Linked DNA regions of Homo sapiens: region 1 is linked to region 2. The links are contacts of gene promoters, found by promoter capture Hi-C in human tissues and cell types (Jung and others, 2019). All regions are on one chromosome and are shown on one strand. Each heading gives the region's core, a stretch centred on a gene start or on the middle of the fragment in contact. The rest is flanking DNA. Distances are from core to core; before and after follow the strand shown. Region 1 overlaps FLYWCH1 (FLYWCH-type zinc finger 1). Region 2 holds the start of ABCA3 (ATP binding cassette subfamily A member 3).

Region 1 (3,307 bases), core at 2-2,501, 580 kb before region 2:
TGACGGATGAACAATGAATGTGAACCGCTGACCTGGACACTTCAACATCGAGGCTCAGGGAGAGCAGCTGCTCACAAAGACCAAGGGTTGTAGGATGCAATTTACATGAATGACCAATATGGTAAATTTTACGTCATGTATATTTAACCCTACACACACACACACACACACACACGAGCCATCTGTAACAAACTATACACAAAACACCCCATTTCCCTAACATTATCAGTGAATAAGCTTCTCCCTACAAGGTAGATTTTCTAGTAACTAAAGTTATCCCGCCATGATTCAGAATATGATTTTTATCTGATTCAAAATGTACCCATTTAAGATGGATTCTTTTTTTTAACTCTGTCACCCAGTTGCCCAGGCAGGAGTGCAGTGGCACGATCTCAGTTCATTGCAACCTCTGCCTCCCGGGTTCAAGTGATTCTCCCGCCTCAGCCTCCTGAGTAGCTGGGACTACAGGCGCGCGCCACCACACCTAGCAAATTTTTGTATTTTTTAGTAGAGATGGGGTTTCACCATATTGGCCAGGATGGTCTCGAACTTCCGACCTCATGATCTGCCTGTCTTGGCCTCCCAAAGTGCTGGGATTACAGGTGTGAGCCACCACACCCGGCCAGAATGAATACCTTTTATTTTTTATTTTAGTGGCAGGATTTCACTACAGCCTAAACCGGAGTGTGGTGGCGTGATCACTACAGCCTCTGCCTCCCAGGCTCAAGCCATCTTCCCACCTCAGCCTCCAGAGTAGCTGGGACCACAGGCGCACACTACCATGCCCGGCTAATTTCTGTATTCTTTGTAGAGACGGGGTTTTGCCAGGTTGCCCAGCCTGGTTTTTTAATTAAATTAAAAAAAAATATTTTGGTAATGACAGGGTCTTGCTATATTTCCAGGTTGGTTTTGAACTCCTGGGATCAAGCGATCCTCCCACCTCAGCCTCCCAAGCACCGGATGGATGCCTCTATAAGCTCTTCTCACCCGCTTCCCTGTCCAGAGAAAGGGAGCAACCATCCTCCCTCTGGCTTTAGAAGCAAAAAAAAAAAAAGTCCTAAAATTGATGGTGGTGATACTTGGACAGCTTTCTGAATATATTAAAAGCAATGAATTGTAGACTTAAAAAGTCCTAAAATTGATGGTGGTGATACTTGGACAGCTTTCTGAATATATTAAAAGCAATGAATTGTAGACTTTAGATGGAGAAATCATATGGTATTATGTAAATTATATCTCAGGAAAGTTATTGAAAAACAATCCCTGTCTGGGAATGGTGGCTCACGCCTGTAATCCCAGCACTTTGGGAGGCCGAGGCGGGCAGATCACGGGGTCAGCAGATCGAGACCATCCGGGCTAACACAGTGAAACCCCGTCTCTACTAAAAACACAAAAAATTAACTGGGCGTGGTGGCGGGCGCCTGTAGTCCCAGCTACTCGGAAGGCTGAGGCAGAAGAATCGCTTGAACCCGGGAGGCAGAGGTTGCAGTGAGCTGAGATCGCGCCACTGCACTCCAGCCTGGGCGACAGAGTGAGACTGTCTCAAAAAAAAAAAAAAAAAAAAAGGCCAGGCGTTGTGGCTCACGCCTGTAATCCTAGCACTTCGGGAGGCCAAGGTGGGCAGATCACCTGAGGTGGGGAGTTTGAGACCAGCCCGACCAACATGGAGAAACCCCGTCTCCACTAAAAATACAAAAATAGCCAGGCATGGTGGCATATGCCTGCAATCCCAGCTACTCGGGAGGCTGAGGCAGGAGCTCACGCTATTGCACTCCAGCCTGGGCAACAAGAGCAAAACTCCATCTCAAAAAAACAAAAACAAACAAACAAACAATGGTCAGAATGACTCAGATTCCAAGGGTCTCTTGGTGGAAAAGTGTTTTTTTTTTTTTTTAAGACAGAGTCTCACGGCCACCCAGGCTGGAGTGCAATGGCGTAATCTTAGCTCACTGCAACCTCCGCCTCCTGGGTCAAGCGATTCTCAGGCCTCAGCCTCCTGAGTAGCTGGGATTATAGGCACCTGAAACCACACATGGCTAAATTTTGTTTTGTATTTTTAGTAGAGATGGAGTTTCACCATTTTGGCCAGGCTGGTCTCGAACTCCTGGCCTCTAGTTACCTACCTGCCTCCTAAAGTGCTGGGATTACAGGTGCTCTACTAAACATCAGAAGCTTCTTGTTCTTGGGTTTGGTTTACTCATCAAAGAAGGGGTGGCATGCATTATATGTTGTGAAATTTTCTAAGTTCTAATATCATATTCTAAAAATATATAGAAACTATTTCAGAATGTTAAGACTATAATACTAAAATGACCCCTAATCCTGCCACTCAAATGCACAACTACTTCCATTGTTGAACTAATGCCTTTAAGGCGCTTGCTTTTCTGTAGCACACACTGCGTTCAATCATGTCTGCTACTGTATCCCCCTCGAGAGCAGGAAGCCCCCACCAGAGGCCACCTGGAGTCTTTCCAAAGGACCATTACATAAGGCAGGACCACCCGTCACGGGGGAAGCGCAAATTTAAATCCTCAGCAGCAATACTCCATATGGCCACAAGATGGTGGTGTTGCTCCTGAAATGTTCCTATTGCCTTGGTAAAATTACACGGGTGGCAATGTTTTCAAACAAGAATTTGGAAATTTTTCCAAGTTGGAAAAAAAATTCAAGAGGATTTCCAAAATGTTATATTTACAAAAAGTAGTACTTCGAGCTGGGCATGGTGGTGCGTATGTGTAGTCCCAGCCACTTGGGAGGTTGTGGCAGGAAAATGGCTTGAGCCCAGGAGTTTGAAGCCAATCTGGGCAACATCACATGACCCCATCTCAAGAAACAAAAAATAGGCCAGACGCGGTGGCTCACGCCTGTAATCCCAGCACTTCGGCAGGCCAAGGCAGGCGGATCACGAGGTCAAGAGATCGAAACCATCCTGGCAAACATGGTGAAACCCCGTCTCTACTAAAAATACAAAAATTAGCTGGGTGTGGTGGCGCATGCCTGTAATCCCAACTACTCGGGAGGCTGAGGCAGGAGAATCGCTTGAACCCAGGGGGCAGAGGTTGCAGTGAGCCGAGACCATACCACTGTACTCCAGCCTGGGAGACAAAGCAAGACTCCGTCTCAAAAAAAAAAAAAGAAACAAAAAATTAAAACAAATGAATAAATATACACGCATATATCAGAGAGCAGCTGGGTGTGGTGGCTCACGCCTGTAATCCCAGCACTTTGGGAGGCTGAGGTGGGTGGATCACAACGTCAGGAGATCGAGACCACCTTGGATAACATCTACTAAAACACAAAAGATTAA
Region 2 (3,439 bases), core at 929-3,428:
TGGCAAGGATTGGTTTTGGAAAGAAAAATGACTGAGGATATGACCGGGTGAAGACAGGGCCAAGCAGCCAAGTTCACATCATTTTCTGGGACGAAGCAGAGAATGGGGAAGACATTTTGGATGGGGTGTTGCAGTCTGTGAAGACTGATGGGGAAAGGGGGTTTTTAGGATGTTTGCAGCGCATTAATAATCCACTCCCCCACCCATCCTGTAACTGCATTCAATTGTTTGGGGTTTTTTTTCCCCCTGTATGCTCATTACGGAGACTAGGCTATGTAAATCCCTAGCTATACTCACATTATATACTACCATTTATTTGGCATTTATGTGTCAGGTATTGTAGTAAGCACTTAAACATGCATTTTCTCATTTGACCCAAAAAAGAAAAGAATACACCAACAAAAAACCTTTGAGTTTGCTATTATTATTAATTACTATTATTATAATTTCAATTTTAGGGATAGGAAATTGAGACTCAGAAAGATAAAATGACATGTCTACATTAATTGGTGGGTCAAGATCTGAAGCCAGGTCTCTGTGATTCCACTGAACAAATTATTTAGCATGAGCCTCCTCCGCCCCAGGCACTCTAGGACCCTGGATCTAGGCATGAACCTGACGAAGTCCCTTTGCTCGCGGAATGGGCTATCCAGAACATCATCAGAGTGAAAGGTGCTATGTACACAGTAAAATGGGGAACGAGCCGCTCAAACCCTACTCCATCAGGACTCTTGGGGGTGGGCGATTTCCGCCCCCGGCCCGGGGCGTTGCATTAGGTCGGGGCCGTCGGGTCGTGGTGCCGGCGGCTGGCTGGGCGCGGGGCTGGCGGTGCGGGTCGCAGGCGGCTCCCAGCGGCAGGACCGGCAGCAGCCCTCCCTCACCCGGGGCGCCGGGACCACGGACGCACCTCACTGTGGTCCGGCCGCTGGCGGCGCTCGGGGACCCATTGGCCCCGGCCCGCGGCAACTGTCGGCCCCGCGCGGCGCCCGCCCTCATGCTGGAGCCCGGGAGTCCCTCACTCCACCTCTCCCTGCCACGCCAAGGGGGCCCGCCCCTCCCAGGCTCTCCTGCCTGGGGCGACCCAGTCCCACGACCCGGTCCGGCCCAGGGACACCCCGACCCACCTCCCCACTCCCGTCCCGTTAGACCGCGACCCGTCCCTGGGACCGCCTAATGTGACACGCCCGGGACCCTCCCTGCAGGCGACTCCCTGCAGGGCCCCCGCCCTGGACACTCCCTCCAGGTGACCCCGTTCCGCTCGCTCCGTGAGGTGACCCCGACCCTCTCCGGACCACCTCCTCAGGTGACCCCGACCCTCTCCGGACCCTCCCCGACCCTCCCCTCAGGTGAACCCGACCCTCCCCGGACCATCCCGTCGGGTGACCCCAACCATCCCCGAACCCCCCCACCCTCCCCTCAGGTGACCCCGACCCTCTCTGGACCCTCCTCACAGGCGGCCCCGCCCCACCCCGGGACCCTCCCGCCAGGTGACCCCGACAAGGCCGGGCCCTCCTGCCTGAGGTGACTCCTACCCGGCTGGGGACCCCCGAGGCCTCCCTCGCTCCTTAAGTGAGGGCGACTCCGCTCATCCCGGGACACCGCGCCTTCTCCTGTAAACTCGACGCCTGCCCCGACGGCCGAATTCCAGAAGGTTCCTCGCCGCCGCCTCGCCTTCGGTCGCGCCCCAGCGCCCGGCCAGAGGCGGGGAAGCCCTTCCCCCGGTGCCAGGAGTGACGAGGGCCCAAGGAAAGACAGTGCGTGAGGAGAAATGGAGAAACGGCCAAAGTCGAGTTTCCGGGTGTGAAGACTTCCACTGCTGCGAAACGCACGTGCGCAGAGTCATTCCTGTCAGAGGCCACCGCGCCCTCGCTCGGCTACCGCCGCTGCGCGCCCCCTGCTGGACATAGGCGCGGGCACAGAGCAGTGCGCAAGCACGGGCTGCCGCGCGGCCGGGTGCGAACCGCGTACTCGCAGGGTGGCTGACTGCGCACGCGCAAGTCAGAGCGCCCTCTGCCGGGCATGGGCGACATGCAGGGGGCACCGCGCAGGCGCGGGGTTGGGCTGGCCGGAGCGGCCGAGGCGGCCGGGGGTGGACCGGGCACCTGCAGGGGCGGCCGACTGCGCACGCGCCATCCGCGGCGCCCCCTGCAGGAGCCGGAGCGGCCGCTGCGTCCGCCAGTAGCGGGTTGCAGGCGCACCCTCCCCTCCAGGGCGGCCACGCAGCTGTCAGTGCCGCCGCCACTGCGAGGCTGGAGCGGAGCCCGGGTGGCCGAGGGAGGGGACCCCGCGAGAGGGCCGCGCGCCGGCCGCCGCCGCCCCGGCGCCCAGGCTCGGTGAGTGCCGCCGGGACCCGCCGCTCGCGCGCTCGTTCCCGGGGCTTGCGGTCCCCACCCGGGTCCGCCCTTCCCACCCTCGCCGGCCAGCTCGGGCCTCGGGCCCCCCCCAGCTCCGGCCTGGCCTGCGGGCCCCTCCCGCGACCCCGCATCCCCTCCGGCCGCGCCCGCGCCCGCCCCTCCTGCCGCGGCCTCGGCTCCGGGCGCTCCCTGCAGGTGCCGCTCCCTCAGCGTCGGCTCCCATCCGAGCCTTGGGCGTGTCCCGCACTGCGGGCAGTGCCTGAGCCCGCGCCGCGCGGGGAAGCTCGACCCTGCGGAGACTCGGCACGGCCCGGGCCCTCTGTGTGCGCCCAGAAGGTGGATATGTAGCGACCGACAGCCCCGGCCCCGAGGGATGCAGGCGTCCGCCGCGCACTTGCGGAGATGGCGCCGCTTTCCGGCCGCAGGGATGCCGGGCGCGCGGTGGCAAAGCCGCCCGGGTTGGATTCCGCCTGCTCCCACCCTCTGGTTCCGAGGAGCCTCCAAATCCGAATCCAAGGCCCACGGTCCGCGGCGGGCGTTTGCTGCGCCCTCCACTGTGTGGGAACGGGAAAGGGGAGCCGCTAGTCCAGGCGGAGGGGCTTGTGGCAGTCGCCGGAGGCCGCGTTCTCGGCGCCCTCGGTCAGGACGCCTGTGTGCATCGCGTCCGTGTGTCTTGGCTCTGTTCCAAGCCGGCTCCACGCTTCAGAAGGGCCGGGACGGCCTTATGGTCAGGGGCGTGGGGAAGGCGCTTGGTGTCTGTCGCACAGATGAAGCCATGTCCTCAGGGGGTAATTGCCGCTTGTTCTCCGGGTTACGTCCTGGACTGTGCACTCCGGGAAGGCGTCGATTGGATCTTGTTGGGGTTTGTGTTCCTGGAACTCCAGAAATGCCCGCTGAGTGAGTAGCCGAGACCCCGCGACAGCATGGAGCCCAGGCAGGGAGCACGTGGGAGAGGTTCACTCTTCTCCTGGGCATCCCGTCATTTTATTCAGATAGTCTGGGCGCTGCCTTTTGTAAACTTGAAAAGACTAAGACTGTTTTAGAAAGTTTGCCTCATGAGAAATGTAAGAGAAAGGGAAAAATAG

Evidence for each region. The method cuts DNA at HindIII sites, captures the fragments that hold promoters and counts their contacts. A contact is called where the count stands out against the background at its distance.
Region 1: a fragment that was not itself captured here is called in contact with the fragment with the promoter of ABCA3 in region 2 in 2 of the 25 tissues and cell types used here (dorsolateral prefrontal cortex and hippocampus).

Annotation. Positions count from the first base shown.
Region 1 is chr16:2,919,099-2,922,405 of GRCh38, reverse strand. The region is part of intron 2 of FLYWCH1 (FLYWCH-type zinc finger 1); the gene reads right to left. Among named protein-coding and RNA genes, the nearest start is that of FLYWCH1, 8.8 kb to the right of the region's middle. The HindIII fragment of the contact is 4,857 bases long and covers 1-3,307 here.
Region 2 is chr16:2,339,467-2,342,905 of GRCh38, reverse strand. It overlaps ABCA3 (ATP binding cassette subfamily A member 3), which reads left to right and starts at 2,178. Exons shown (of 33, transcript NM_001089.3): 1 at 2,178-2,333. It also overlaps the pseudogene ABCA17P. RefSeq lists silencers at 1,868-2,327, 2,498-2,557. The HindIII fragment of the contact is 11,234 bases long and covers 1-3,439 here.